3 separate regions of the Homo sapiens genome follow, and all the other regions are linked to region 1. Evidence: promoter capture Hi-C in 16 types of primary human blood cells and fetal thymus (Javierre and others, 2016). All regions are on one chromosome and are shown on one strand. Each heading gives the region's core, a stretch centred on a gene start or on the middle of the fragment in contact. The rest is flanking DNA. Distances are from core to core; before and after follow the strand shown. Region 1 holds the start of RPS3A (ribosomal protein S3A). Region 2 overlaps FBXW7 (F-box and WD repeat domain containing 7). Region 3 overlaps FBXW7 (F-box and WD repeat domain containing 7).

What was found. Contacts are between HindIII fragments. The CHiCAGO score rates a contact against its expected background, and 5 or more counts as called.
Region 2: a fragment that was not itself captured here is called in contact with the fragment with the promoter of RPS3A in region 1 in 1 of 17 cell types (fetal thymus); the score reaches 5.7 in fetal thymus.
Region 3: a fragment that was not itself captured here is called in contact with the fragment with the promoter of RPS3A in region 1 in 1 of 17 cell types (neutrophils); the score reaches 6.9 in neutrophils.

The regions. Positions count from the first base shown.
Region 1 is chr4:151,097,755-151,101,649 of GRCh38, forward strand. It overlaps RPS3A (ribosomal protein S3A), which reads left to right and starts at 1,874. Exons shown (of 6, transcript NM_001006.5): 1 at 1,874-1,960; 2 at 2,731-2,834; 3 at 3,221-3,408. The coding sequence starts at 1,899. RefSeq lists enhancers at 784-853, 1,131-2,330, 1,629-2,213, 1,634-2,193, 2,214-2,797. The HindIII fragment of the contact is 1,842 bases long and covers 521-2,362 here.
Region 2 is chr4:152,346,834-152,351,363 of GRCh38, forward strand. FBXW7 (F-box and WD repeat domain containing 7) reads right to left here. Exons shown (of 14, transcript NM_001349798.2): 5 at 3,209-3,291; 6 at 97-238. Among named protein-coding and RNA genes, the nearest start is that of FBXW7-AS1, 11 kb to the left of the region's middle. The HindIII fragment of the contact is 4,803 bases long and covers 649-4,530 here.
Region 3 is chr4:152,516,072-152,520,532 of GRCh38, forward strand. The region is part of intron 2 of FBXW7 (F-box and WD repeat domain containing 7); the gene reads right to left. Among named protein-coding and RNA genes, the nearest start is that of FBXW7, 18 kb to the right of the region's middle. RefSeq lists a silencer at 1-84. The HindIII fragment of the contact is 5,926 bases long and covers 1-4,461 here.

The DNA.
Region 1 (3,895 bases), core at 624-3,123:
AGCTATCAAGCCGGGCTAATTTTTTTTTATTTTTAGTTGAGATTAGGTCTTGTAATGTTGCCCAGGCTGGTATCAAACTCCTGAGCTCAAGAAAACCTCCTGCCTTGGCCTCTTAAAGTGCTGAGATTACAGGCATGAGCCACCACCTGGCCAAATTAACCATCTTAATCATCTTTTTAAAAAAGAGATGGGGTCTCACTATGTTGCCCAGGCTGGAGTCCTACTCCTAGCCTCAAGTGATCCTCCTGCCTCTGCCTTCCGAATACCTGGAACTAGCGGCCTGAGACACCTGGCAGGGCTACCTTAACCTTTTTTAAGTGTAGAGTTCAGTAGTGTTAAGTACATTCATACTATTATGAAACTAAGACTTTGAATTTATCCTCCAGGCAACTGAGATTTATGGAATTACTGAAAGATTTCAGGACCCTACTAGAGGTTTAGGAAGGTTGTCTTGGGGGGTGGGTGTAGTGGGAGGTAGGGGATGGAGGCTAGCAGGACTGGAAGGGATTGTAAGTTTAAAAGCTTGCAGGGGGCCTTGTAAGTAAGGGTTGGTTTTGGCTTGGTCACAGGGTTTTCTGCCAGAGGGGAAGTTAGAGAAGGGAACTCAACACACCACTGGCTGAGTACCAAGCCTGTATGGGCCAGATGCTTTCCGAGGGCTGCACACTTGAGCTAGCCAGCCACACCTTGCCAGGATGTGCTCTGTTAACCCCTACAGTTAAAAAAAATGGGGGAGGCGGGTTTGGATTAGTTGCAAAAATGGAAACATTTGGAGATCTCACTTTTTTTTTTTTGACGCAGTTTCACTCTTGTTGGCCAGGCAATGGCGCGATCTCGGCTCACTGCAACTTCCGCCTCCTGAGCTCAGATTCTCGTGCCTCAGCCTCCCGAGTAGCTGGGATTACAGGCACCCACCCGGCTAATTTTTTGTATGTTTAGTAGAGACGGGGTTTCACTATGTTGGCCAGGCTGGTCTCGAACTCCTGAGCTCAGGCGATCCGCCCGCCTCAGCCTCCCAAAGTGCTGGGATTACAGGCGTGAGCCACCGCGCCCGGCCAACGCCCTGCTAATTTTATCATTTTCTTGTAAAGACGGGGTCTGGCTGTGTGGCCCAGGCTAGTCTCCAATTCCTGGCTTCAGTTGATTCCCCTGCCTCAGCCTCTTAAAGTGCTGGGATTACAGGTGTGAGCCAACGAGTTCGGTCTCACTCTATTTTAAAAAAACCTTTTAATCAATATATAACAGACATATAGAAAAGGACACAAATAAGCGTAGAGCTTAGTGAATGTTCACAAAGCAACAACACCTGAGATGAACCAGCATCCACATCAACAAGCAGAACGTCGCTAGCATCTCTGGAGTGATGCTCATTTAGCCCTATGAAACCTCATGAAGCCGACCGTTTTATCACCCCCATATTACGCATGAGGAAACAAGCGTGGAGAGGTCGGTCTCAAGCAAAGCCCTGTTGAAACCGGCATTTGAATCAGATCCGCTGACTGACTCCAAAGCCAATGCTCTCAAAAAGCAGGTTTGGGGGTTAGACGGTGAGTTCAGCTTTGAACGATGTTGAGTGGGCGTCTCGTTTTACAGAAACTTACTTCCCGACGTCACAGCCACAGAAACCACAGGTAACCAGACGCCTGCACGTCAGGCCACCGACGCCTTGGTCTACACAGCGCAGCCTCCAGTGAGCCCGCGGCATGCCGCGCGGCCTCCCCACACACGATGGCGATGTCGCAACCACAGTAGAAAGAGTGGCGCTCTCTACTGTCCCGGAATTCTTGAGGCCGGAAGAATAACAGGGCAAAGGTCACGTAGACGGCGCGCCCCGCCCCCGTACGCCTAAGTTCTCGCGCGACTCCCACTTCCGCCCTTTTGGCTCTCTGACCAGCACCATGGCGGTTGGCAAGAACAAGCGCCTTACGAAAGGCGGCAAAAAGGGAGCCAAGAAGAAAGTGTAAGTCGCGACTGTCGTGGCGTCTTGCTTTTTGGGGGTCTGCTGGAATCGGCGGGCTGGTCCTAGATCGCGGCGTAGGCCGGATGGCGAGGATTCCAGTCGGATTGTGCGGGCCGTGGCGGGTTGGTGCACCCAGGAACGCGGCCTGGAGGGTCGGTGTTGAGTAGCGGCAGGTCGGCTGCCTTTCCCAGGCCTTCTGGTCCTTGCGCGCGTCGCGTTTGAGCCGGCTTGCCGGCGCGACTCGGCTGGAATGTTAGTTTTGTGGGCTCACGAGCTGCCTCAATTCTGCGAGTGTTTGATGGCACTGCGACAGCAGGAGTTGAGGAAAGCACCCTTCTATCCATTCAGGACCCGTCAATCTCGCCTTTGCTTGGTCCCGCTGGAATCTGCGAGCTCCTGCTAAGCTTTGGGGCCATGCAGTCTCTTAGTTACCAGTACATGCCATTACGTGCCAGCAAAGTTAATGAGATTGCATGTTACTCGTGCCTGTGTAGTGGAAGGACCGATGCATGTTATTCTAAGTGCCTGTGTAGTGGATGGACCGATGAGGGTGGGAAGTGGACATAACCTTTCAAAGTCTGATGCATGCAGTGAAACGTACAGTGGGAAGAGCTAGATTTATGTTTGTTCCCCTCACCTCACTGTGAGATATACTTTGGTATCAAATTGCCGGTTAGCTTTTTAAAATATTAATGGGAAATACCATTAACAGTGAAAAATACAGTAAGAATTGATCTGCAATGGAACTTAAGCATCTTCTTAAAATCCAGGGTTGATCCATTTTCTAAGAAAGATTGGTATGATGTGAAAGCACCTGCTATGTTCAATATAAGAAATATTGGAAAGACGCTCGTCACCAGGACCCAAGGAACCAGTAAGTAGCTTATTCTTGGTTTGTATTTTCCTTAAGTTGGCGCTTGTATATTGTAGCAGGCATCTTGGTCTGTTGTTGGTCCTGTGGTGGGAGACTTTAAGGAAATGTCAGCTCTTGGTTGCAGCCTTGGCACCTGTGGTGATCATTTTTAGTACAGCACTTGGAGAGAAGCAAGATGGTGCTTTTTGAATTAAGAAAATGTGCCATGGGTAGTTCTGAGCTTCAAATAAGTACTGTTGATAAGTCACTGGTGTCTGGATAGATTTGATAACAAAGGTTAAGGTCTTTATAATTTACCATTAACTTAATTTCTACCCTCAGTTTACAGGCTTGACTTTGCTTATATGGTTCCTAAATGTTAAGATACTTGTTTTTTTCTTTTGTAGAAATTGCATCTGATGGTCTCAAGGGTCGTGTGTTTGAAGTGAGTCTTGCTGATTTGCAGAATGATGAAGTTGCATTTAGAAAATTCAAGCTGATTACTGAAGATGTTCAGGGTAAAAACTGCCTGACTAACTTCCATGGCATGGATCTTACCCGTGACAAAATGTGTTCCATGGTCAAAAAATGGCAGGTGAGACCCAAAGTTCCTTAGAGTGGTTGTGCTATGGGTGTTTGACCAAGGATAGCATGGTTTGATGACTGGAAGGAGCAAGTTCATTTTATTTATTTATTGAGACCAGTGAAATGTCCACAAAGTTCATTTTAAATTTTTGTTTTCTTGCCGTTGTTGAGTGCTAACTCTGGGGTTGCCACACCATATTTTACTTACTATTTAAATCTAAGATTTAATAGTGGTGTATCATCAAAGTCAGATTTTCTTGCTGCATAGATTAGTGGTTTTTTGAGGAACGTTTAGGTGCAGGTGGGCGGTTTTGCCTGTCTTAAGGATGTTTTTTGACCTCAGAATTGAGTGAATGTTGATTAACTGTGGCAGTAGAGCATAATTGTGGCAGAGCCTCTGGAGTGAGGTTAAAATCTGGGCTCCATTTGCCTATTGTGTTCTCGTTGGAAAGTAACTTGTTTTCTAAGCCTCGGTTTCTTTATTTGTAAAGTGCAGA
Region 2 (4,530 bases), core at 1,800-4,299, 1.3 Mb after region 1:
ATGTAACAGTGTTTCCTTCTTTTTTTACGGATGAATAATCCCTTATTTTGCAGCAATTAAGTGAGGCATTTCAAGTACTATGTTTAGATATGTCACCTGAAACATTTTTAGCCATTCCTGGAGGCCTGTAGGTGGCTGGACAGATGTAATTCGGCGTCGTTGTTGCCCTTGGCCATTGGCTGCTCTGAGGTCCCCAAAAGTTGTTGGTGTTGCTGAACATGGTACAAGCCCAGTGGTACTACAAAAAAAAAAAAAAGAGAGAGAGAAAGGATAAAAGGAAAAAAACAAAAGTGAAAGCAAAGATAGATACTTATTAATAATAGATTCTAGTACAAAGAATGATGATCTGGCATATTTCAAACATCAATTAATTACCTTTCTTCCCAGAGATCACAGGTACACAAAACCTATTTGCTATTCTTACAGTAAGTTTCCTCCCTCCTATATAACGCCTGTTATTATCCCAGAAATGCTAATTGCAACCAAATAACAGAATCTCCATGACAAAACTGCAAGTTGTTAATATATACAAATAAAGTTAAAATATTTCCTTAGAACATACAAGTCCCACTTCTCCTATGACTGGTCTTTGGTGACATAAGTAAAGTTTAAATTTTCTTTATAAAAAGGGTTGTGATACTTTATTAAAGCTTTAAAAAACTCAGACATAGAAATACTATGTTCAAATGTTTTGAATTTCAAGAATCACATTATTCCTTAAGTTTGCCTCAGATGCCTTCAAAATTGTCTATAATATTTCTAATTTTTTACTGCTATTTATAAAGTTTGGTCTGAATAGTTGACAGGACTCAGTCTTGATTAGAAATACATTTATTCAAAACAGGTAAGTATTAAGAACTTATATGCAAAACTAAATAAGATCATCTAAACATTTTTATACAATAATTTAAATTTTGAGATTTAACTGTCTCAAACAAACTTGAAATTCAATTCTGCCACTAGTAAAATGAGGACGACTAGATGATCTCTCTAAAACTAACTACCCTAAAAATGACCAATTAATAGCAGAAAGAATATATAACTATATTACTAACGTATTAAACTTTCCTTTCTAATTTCTGCATGTAATTAAACTAAACTCAAGGTAAATATTGGGTATCCATTTTAAAGACCTTGGAAAAAAAGCAGCAGGAAGGTCTGGTTTAACAAAATTATATTTGAAAAGAAATTCTCACTCAATTCATTGAGCTATGTTGATTAATTATTTTAAATTCAAAGAACACTTACAAATTGCATCGTAATAGTTAACAATCAAACTCTGATAAATTACTAATGAAACAACTCCTCCAGCTGTTTTTTTCTATCCAGCATTATTTTGTTAAAAAATGTATCTCAGTCACCAGATTTTACAGAAAAGTCTTCTTATCTACTCCCTTTAAATCCTCTAATAGTATAAATCGAAGACAATCTTTAACATTCAGCAATTAAATCTATCTTTTCTTCTTTCAAATTCAAAGGTAAGTTCTATTTTCTTTTCCTCCAAAATAAAATAGGATATGTTTATAACAAATTTTTGATGGAAAAATCATAGTTTTATCTTATTAGCAAATCTGTCAAAAATATCACAAAATACCAAATATATACCTTCCTAACCGAGAGTCTCCAGAAAAACATGGAAATAAATATGCTGTTTGGTCTAATTTTGCTTTAATAAAATTATATATTAACAGGCTAAAAATAAAACTTCTGCCTTTTCAGTTGCTTTGTCAATATAAAAAGTGAGCAACTAAAGACAAATTTTACTAAAATGTGTTCTGTAATAAAAATTCAGCACTCATTTATTCTAAGCTGCCTTAAAAACAAGTGAACAATGTAATACCTTTGTCCTGGTATCAGCCATATTAATAGAAGACTGATACATTTAAAAAATAGCATTAACAGTTAGTTTAACATTAAATGCAAATTTCTCATCCAAGAAATACTTTATCATGACTAGAAGGGAAAAGCAAAATGAAGTGAATAGTTTCACTTGTCTCTCTATCCCTCCACACCCTCTGGTGGAAGTGCCAAAACACAGTAAAACTGTCAAAAGGCAAAGAGTAACAGGAAGGGGGACAGTTAACATAAGAAAAATCACACCGAAAAGCAGCTCCTGAATAAGAGATAGCTTTATTTTTCTTTTCTGTGTTATCTCTTCACTTTTTGAATGTAAGACTATTCCAATTATGATGATTTTCAAATTTCATAAAGCAGCATTTGAAAGAAATATTTTTTACAACTGAAATAAAAACAAGCTATTTCTCTGTAAGAGGCACAATCTGCAACAATGTTCAATAAAAAAATTATATCTGAGCAATGTTAATTTTAGTGCATCTTATAGAATAAAAATAACTAAATTGAAATATTTTGAGAGAAAGGAAGAAATGTCATAACCATGAAGTTCTTATGGTTTCTACTGTTAACTTTCAATCACTTATTTTAAAAACTGGCAATTATACAAAAAATTCTGTTTTAAAGACCAAAAAAAAAAGCTCTAAGATACTTCTGTCATTTAAATTTTAAAATACGACATTCCAAGTGACATTCAAAGCCACTTTTAATTGGCTGGGCAATAGACATTGTGCTTAAGTTAGCCTAATAACTGTGAGAGTGGGAAAAGTTTTATACTGATGTAAAATCCAAAAATAATGGGGACTGAAGTAGAAAAAGATTACAATTATGTTTCATTGTTATGGAAACTATTCTACTGGTATAGAAAAGAAATGTATGTGTTAAAAACTTAAGACCTACCAAGCCCATAAAAGAAAATTTCTAACACATTAATTTCATGAAATAAGATTGAGTTAGTAATTGTTTTACTTCACTGCTAATAAATGTATCTTCAAATTTCCATACATAAATGTCTACCCTAGAACAGCTGTTCCTATAGTAACAAGACACAGGGGCTCATATTCATATTTTATGGTTTACTTTTTAGAATTCCTTAAAAATTGTAATTTTAAATTTTTGTTCACAAGATAATTTCTGCTTGTGTCCTACTTCAAAATGTATTAGTAACAAAACATAAACTAAGGTGGCATTCCTCTTATTTAAAATGATATAGTTCTCAATTTCCGGTAATCTCAAAATGTGTTAAACAGTCAACCGTACTAGTAACATTATTATTCTACAAGAATAAACTAAAACACTTTCAGAATCAACTCTAAAAAACTGAGAATCATGAGATAATCATTATATTTAATATTACCTTGTATATTCTGAGACTTTGCATGGTTTCTTTCCCAAAGAAAAAGAGCGGACCTCAGAACCATGGTCCAACTTTCTTTTCATCTATAAGGTAAAACAAACAAGATATGTTTTTTAAAAATCGTCTAACTATCAAATCTTGAGTCAGCATGGTTAATATTTTAAATTCTTAAATTTTCATATGCCTACAATGTTAATTAAATATATAAAATAAATGTTTCATAGTTTCTTCTATTTGTTCTACTTTGTTTTACTCTGAATGGAATGGAAAGGTGAATTTTCCCCCCTAATATTTTATCCAGAAGAACAGTGTGTGATGATTTGAAAACTGATATTCATTATATATATATATTCCTTGAGATAATATATCTTTCATGTTTTCCAATTTAATAACCAACATAGGGAAAAATCTCAAGTTAATCCACACAGAAAATAATCATATTTAACGTGCCTTCCTCGTGAATCATTTTTCTTTAAAAACATGTTTTTAATAAAGATAAAATTCAAAATTGTAAAATCAGAAATAATTATGAAAGTAACAAACTCAATTTTAAACACTCATACCATTATAAGAGGGTAAAGAGCAGTATAAATAATCTTGAATAGTGATAAGGCATAAAGCAATTAATATGGGCAATAAGGACAGTTTTAAAAAGTAAATCAATAATAAGAGAAATCTGGAGATAGTATAATAACGCTGAGGGGAAAGTTGTCAATTGATATATATACAGAATATAGCTCTATTGACAGATACTCAGGACAAAATATTCTAATTTGAAAAGCAACAACAGAAAGGTTTTAAAAGAATCAGTTATGCCTCTTCTATAAGGTGTATCCAAAATCTACATTTTAAGGTGTTTCATTATGCCATGTTATACTATAAATATATTCAGAATTGTTTCTTGTCAACATCAATATTGAAATATTCTCATTTGACTATATGTATATTTTAAAACTAGAAAATAAAATCTGGTAAGATTTGACTTTTTCCATTTCAACAACCCCTTTTTAAGATTTGTGTCCACTAATTAATCACTGTATTACTGCAAGTTATAGGAGGAAAAACACTCCAAAGTGATAGAGAGCTATCCTCATGTTTATAAGTAGGTAAAAATCCTTGCTTTGCAGCAGCCTTATTTTCCTACCTCTTGCCTTACATGGGAACATCATAACATAGCATGATACAATATAAATACTAAAGAGACTTAAAATGTTTTAGAGCCACACTGAATAATAAAGACCATGTTTTTGTCATCACGAAGAGTTTTCTAAAATACTAGGATGATCTTACGACATTAGGGGCTAGAGGTGAGGGTACAACAA
Region 3 (4,461 bases), core at 759-3,258, 1.4 Mb after region 1:
GAAGAGATAGGAGCCCCGGCTGATTCCTTAATTTCAGCCTAGTGAGAACCTGAGGAAAGACCCAGCTAAACCATACCCAAATTCCTGACCAATAGAAACTGTAAGATAAGCTGCTAAATTTGTGTTAATTTGCTGTAGAGCAGGGGTCCACAACTGGTACTGGTCCGTGGCCTGTTAGAAACCCGGCCGCACAGCAGGAGGTGAGCTGCAGGTGGAGTATTATCGCCTGAGCTCCGCCTCCTGTCAGATCAGCTGTGGCATTAGAGTCTCATAGGAGCACAAACACTATTGTGAACTGTGCATGCAAGGCATCTAGGTTAGGTGCTCCTTAAGAGAACCTAATGCCTGATGATTCATCCCAAACCATTCCCCACTGCCTCTCCTTCCCCGCATCCACGGAAAAACTGTCTTCCACAAAAATGGTCCCTGGTGCCAAAAAGGCTGGGGACTGCTTCTGTAGAGCGATGGAAAACTAATACCATACAGATGACCATTTAGATTTGAGGAAACATGGTTTATATTATTTCTCTTAAAGGCTGCTACTCTTTATCATCAAAACAATTTCTAAAACTTCACATTATTATAAGTGATGTAATTCAATTTCACAAGTCAGCAAGATAAGCGGTAATACTAATCTCAACACTGCACAGTTTTTAATTTTTAATTTTTTAAAGAAAGTGTAACTTCTAAGAATTTATTTCTTCCACCAAGTAGGCACACAAACAATACTGTAAACTTAGTATGGTTGTTTCCGCTTTTTTTGTTTGTTTTTGAGACAGGGTCTTATTTTGTCACCCAGGCTGGACTGCAGTAGCACCATCTTGGCTCACTGCAGCCTCGACCTCCTGGGTTCAAGCAATCCTCCTGCCTCAGCCTCCCAAGTAGCTGGGACTACAGGCAAGTGCCACTACACCCAGCTAATTTTTGTATGTTCAGTAGAGATGGTTTCGCCATGTTGTCCAGCTGGTCTCGAACTCCTGAGCTCAAGCGATCCACTCGCCTCAGCCTCCCAAAGTGCTAGGATTATACGCATGAGCTACCGTGCCAGGCTGTTTCTGCCTTTCTAAACCAATGACATATCAAAACAGAAGCCCAATCTTGGTCTTTATCCATTTCTAAGGAAGTGTAAATAAAGTTGGAGGGGTGGTTTTTTTAAAAAAGTTAATTTTGAGATCTAGCATGGCCACATTATTGGAGGCAATCATCCAGTTTCTAAGAACTTCGGTAAACTCGACTATTTAAAAAAAGGAAACACAGAAATCTGAATAAAGTCTACTATCTAATTAATAGTATAAATAAACAAATGGAATAATAATGCATGCTCTGCCAACCTCATATATAATTAAATGCCAATGAAAATAGCCAGTACTTCTATGGCTCTTATTGTGTGCCAGGCACTGTTCTATAAATAATATATAAGAAATAAATTTACAGATGACACAGACAGTATAGAATAAAGATTAAGGTCCCAGGCTCTAGAGCCAGACTGCCTGGAAACAATCCCAGCTCCACTATTAACTAAAGGTGGGACCTTGACCATGTTTAACTTCTCTATGCCAAATTTTCAGCTATAAAATAGGGATATTAACAACACTTACCTCATAGAGCTATCGTGAGGACTGGATGAGGTAATACACATGAAGGACACAGAACAGTGCCTGTCACATAATAAACACTCAAATACCGATATCGATATTATTTGTATAGTGGTGCCATATTAACATTCACTTCTAAGAAAGGAAACCTGTAGTAGATTATGTCAGAGGATACTAATGAGCCTTAGACTTAAAGTCTGAAAATCTTGAAGTACTTATCTGATTCTTTCTACCCCAACCCCTAAATTCTATTTACCAGAATTTAGTTCCACTTAGGCATTTTTAATCTTTTATAGAACATCATTCAGCACTCAATACTTATTTTTTTCTTTTTTTCTTCAAGACAAAGTCTCGCTGTGTCGCCCAGGCTGGAGTGCAATGGTGCAATCTCAGCTCAATGCAACCTCCACCACCCGGGTTCAAGCAATTCTCCTGCCTCAGCCTCCAGAGTAGCTGGGATTACAGGCACGCACCACCACACCCAGCTAATTTTTCTATTTTTAGTAGAGACAGGGTTTCACCATGCCAGCCAGGCTGGTCTGGAACTCCTGGCCTCAAGTGATCCACCCGCCTTGGACTCCCAATGTGCTGGGATTACAGCCATGAGCCACTGCACCCAGCCTACTATTTTATTTATTTATATATTTGAAACAGGGTCTTGCTCTCTCACCCAGGCTAAAGTATAGTGGCAGGATCTTGGCTCACTACAGTCTTGAACTACTACGCTCAAAACCATCCTCCCACCTCAGCCTCCCAAGTAACTAGGACTACAGGTGCACACCACCACACCCAGCTAATTTATTTTATTTTTGTAGAGACAAGGTTTTGCCATGATGCCCAGGCTGGTCTCCAACTCCCGGCCTAAAGCAATCCTTTTGCCTCAGCCTCTCGAGTAACTGGGATTATAGGCATAAGCCATCACGCTCAGCTTCAGCACTCTATACTTAGTATTTGCATGTAACTTTTGATAAAATTTTATAAAGGCATATAATTAAAATTTCTGAAAAGGGCAAAGTTCAAATGTATTTAACTATAGTTACAAATACAGTATTTTAAATGGAACCAAGAGAAAATCTTTCACAAAACATTTTTAAAGGCCAACATCTAAGTTTAGCTCTTTTTAAGGTAACAGAATTACAAAAATTATTTTAAATATCCTAATGAAAAAACAAAAATACAGATATAAAAACTATGTTCTCACAGTATTAATTAAATATGAAATATCTATAAATAAACTCACTGGGTAGGGAATAGTTCTACAAAGTATGTAAAAGAAGAAAAAATAAATTTTTTTTAAATTACAAACACCAAATCAGCAAACAAAAATAGTTTAAGAAATTACATAAGGGAAGCCAGGCGTGGTGGCTCATGCCTGTAATCCCAGCATTTTGAGAGGTGAAGGTGGGTGGATCACGAGGTCAGGAGATCGAGACCATCCTGGCTAACACGGTGAAACCCCGTCTCTACTAAAAATACAAAAAATTAGCAGGGCGTAGCGGTGGGCGCCTGTAGTCCCAGCTACTCAGGAGGCTGAGGGAGGAGAATGGCGTGAATCCGGGAGGCAGAGCTTGCAGTGAGCCAAGATCACACCACTGCACTCCAGCCTGGGCTACAGAGTGAGACTCTGTCTCAAAAATAAATAAATAAATAAATAAAGAAAGAAAGAAAGAATAATCAGATACCCACTGACTTAAGCAATTTATACCCAAGAGACTAACAAATGTTGATTCTCAGATTTTCTGCTAAACCATAGGTTTTCAAATCCTAAATAATGTATTTGAGGCTCATCCTGAAATAATCTCCTTCAAAAGATTTAACTCTCACTCAACAACACATTTCACATATAAAATCAGTTTTCTCCATAATCTTAGACAGATTTTGCCTAGATAAATTTATTCTACTGCTAACATATCTGGGACACCTGTCCTGATGATGATTCCAAGAGCAAGACTAAAAAATGAGGGTTAATGCAAATCAATTCAAATGACGGACTTCAATTTCACAATTATTTTGTATAATGACATAAAACTGGGAATTGCTTCTTCACGAGTCTGTTAATCTGCCTTCCAATAGGATGATTTTCTATCATTTTCCCCTCCTATGTCAGTACAACTTTCCATTTTCAATAAAAACTTAAGAGACAGCATGCATGATTAAAAGCATAGACCATGGAGTATGACAGATCTAGATTTGAATCCCAGTTCTGCAAGTCAAAATTCCGATGTGTTCTTGGAAATTTCTCTGAATTTGTTTCCTTTGCCATAAAACATCAGTAGCTATTTCATATGAACTGCTGTGAGGACTAAGTTAAATAACGGTTGTAAAAATCCTTAGGACAGTTCCTGACATACAGTAAACATTCAATACATGGTAATAATAATGATCATGAATTACAAAATCTACATTCTTATCTTCTAGATTCATACCCCTCTCCTTCCTTGCCAATTCTTTAAAAATAACTGGGGGTAAAAAATCAATCATTACCGGCCGGGCGCGGTGGCTCACGCCTGTAATCCCAGCACTTTGGGAGGCCGAGGCGGGTGGATCATGAGGTCAGGAGATCGAGACCATCCTGGCTAACAAGGTGAAACCCCGTCTCTACTAAAAATACAAAAAATTAGCCGGGCGCGGTGGCGGGCGCCTGTAGTCCCAGCTACTGGGGAGGCTGAGGCAGGAGAATGGCGTGAACCCGGGAAGCGGAGCTTGCAGTGAGCCGAGATTGCGCCACTGCAGTCCGCAGTCCGGCCTGGGCGACAGAGCGAGACTCCGTCTCAAAAAAAAAAAAAAAAAAAATCAATCATTACCAAAAGCAAAAGAGATCTAGTAGGTCACTTCTTCACCTCCAGTTGTCCTCTTTCTTTCCTAC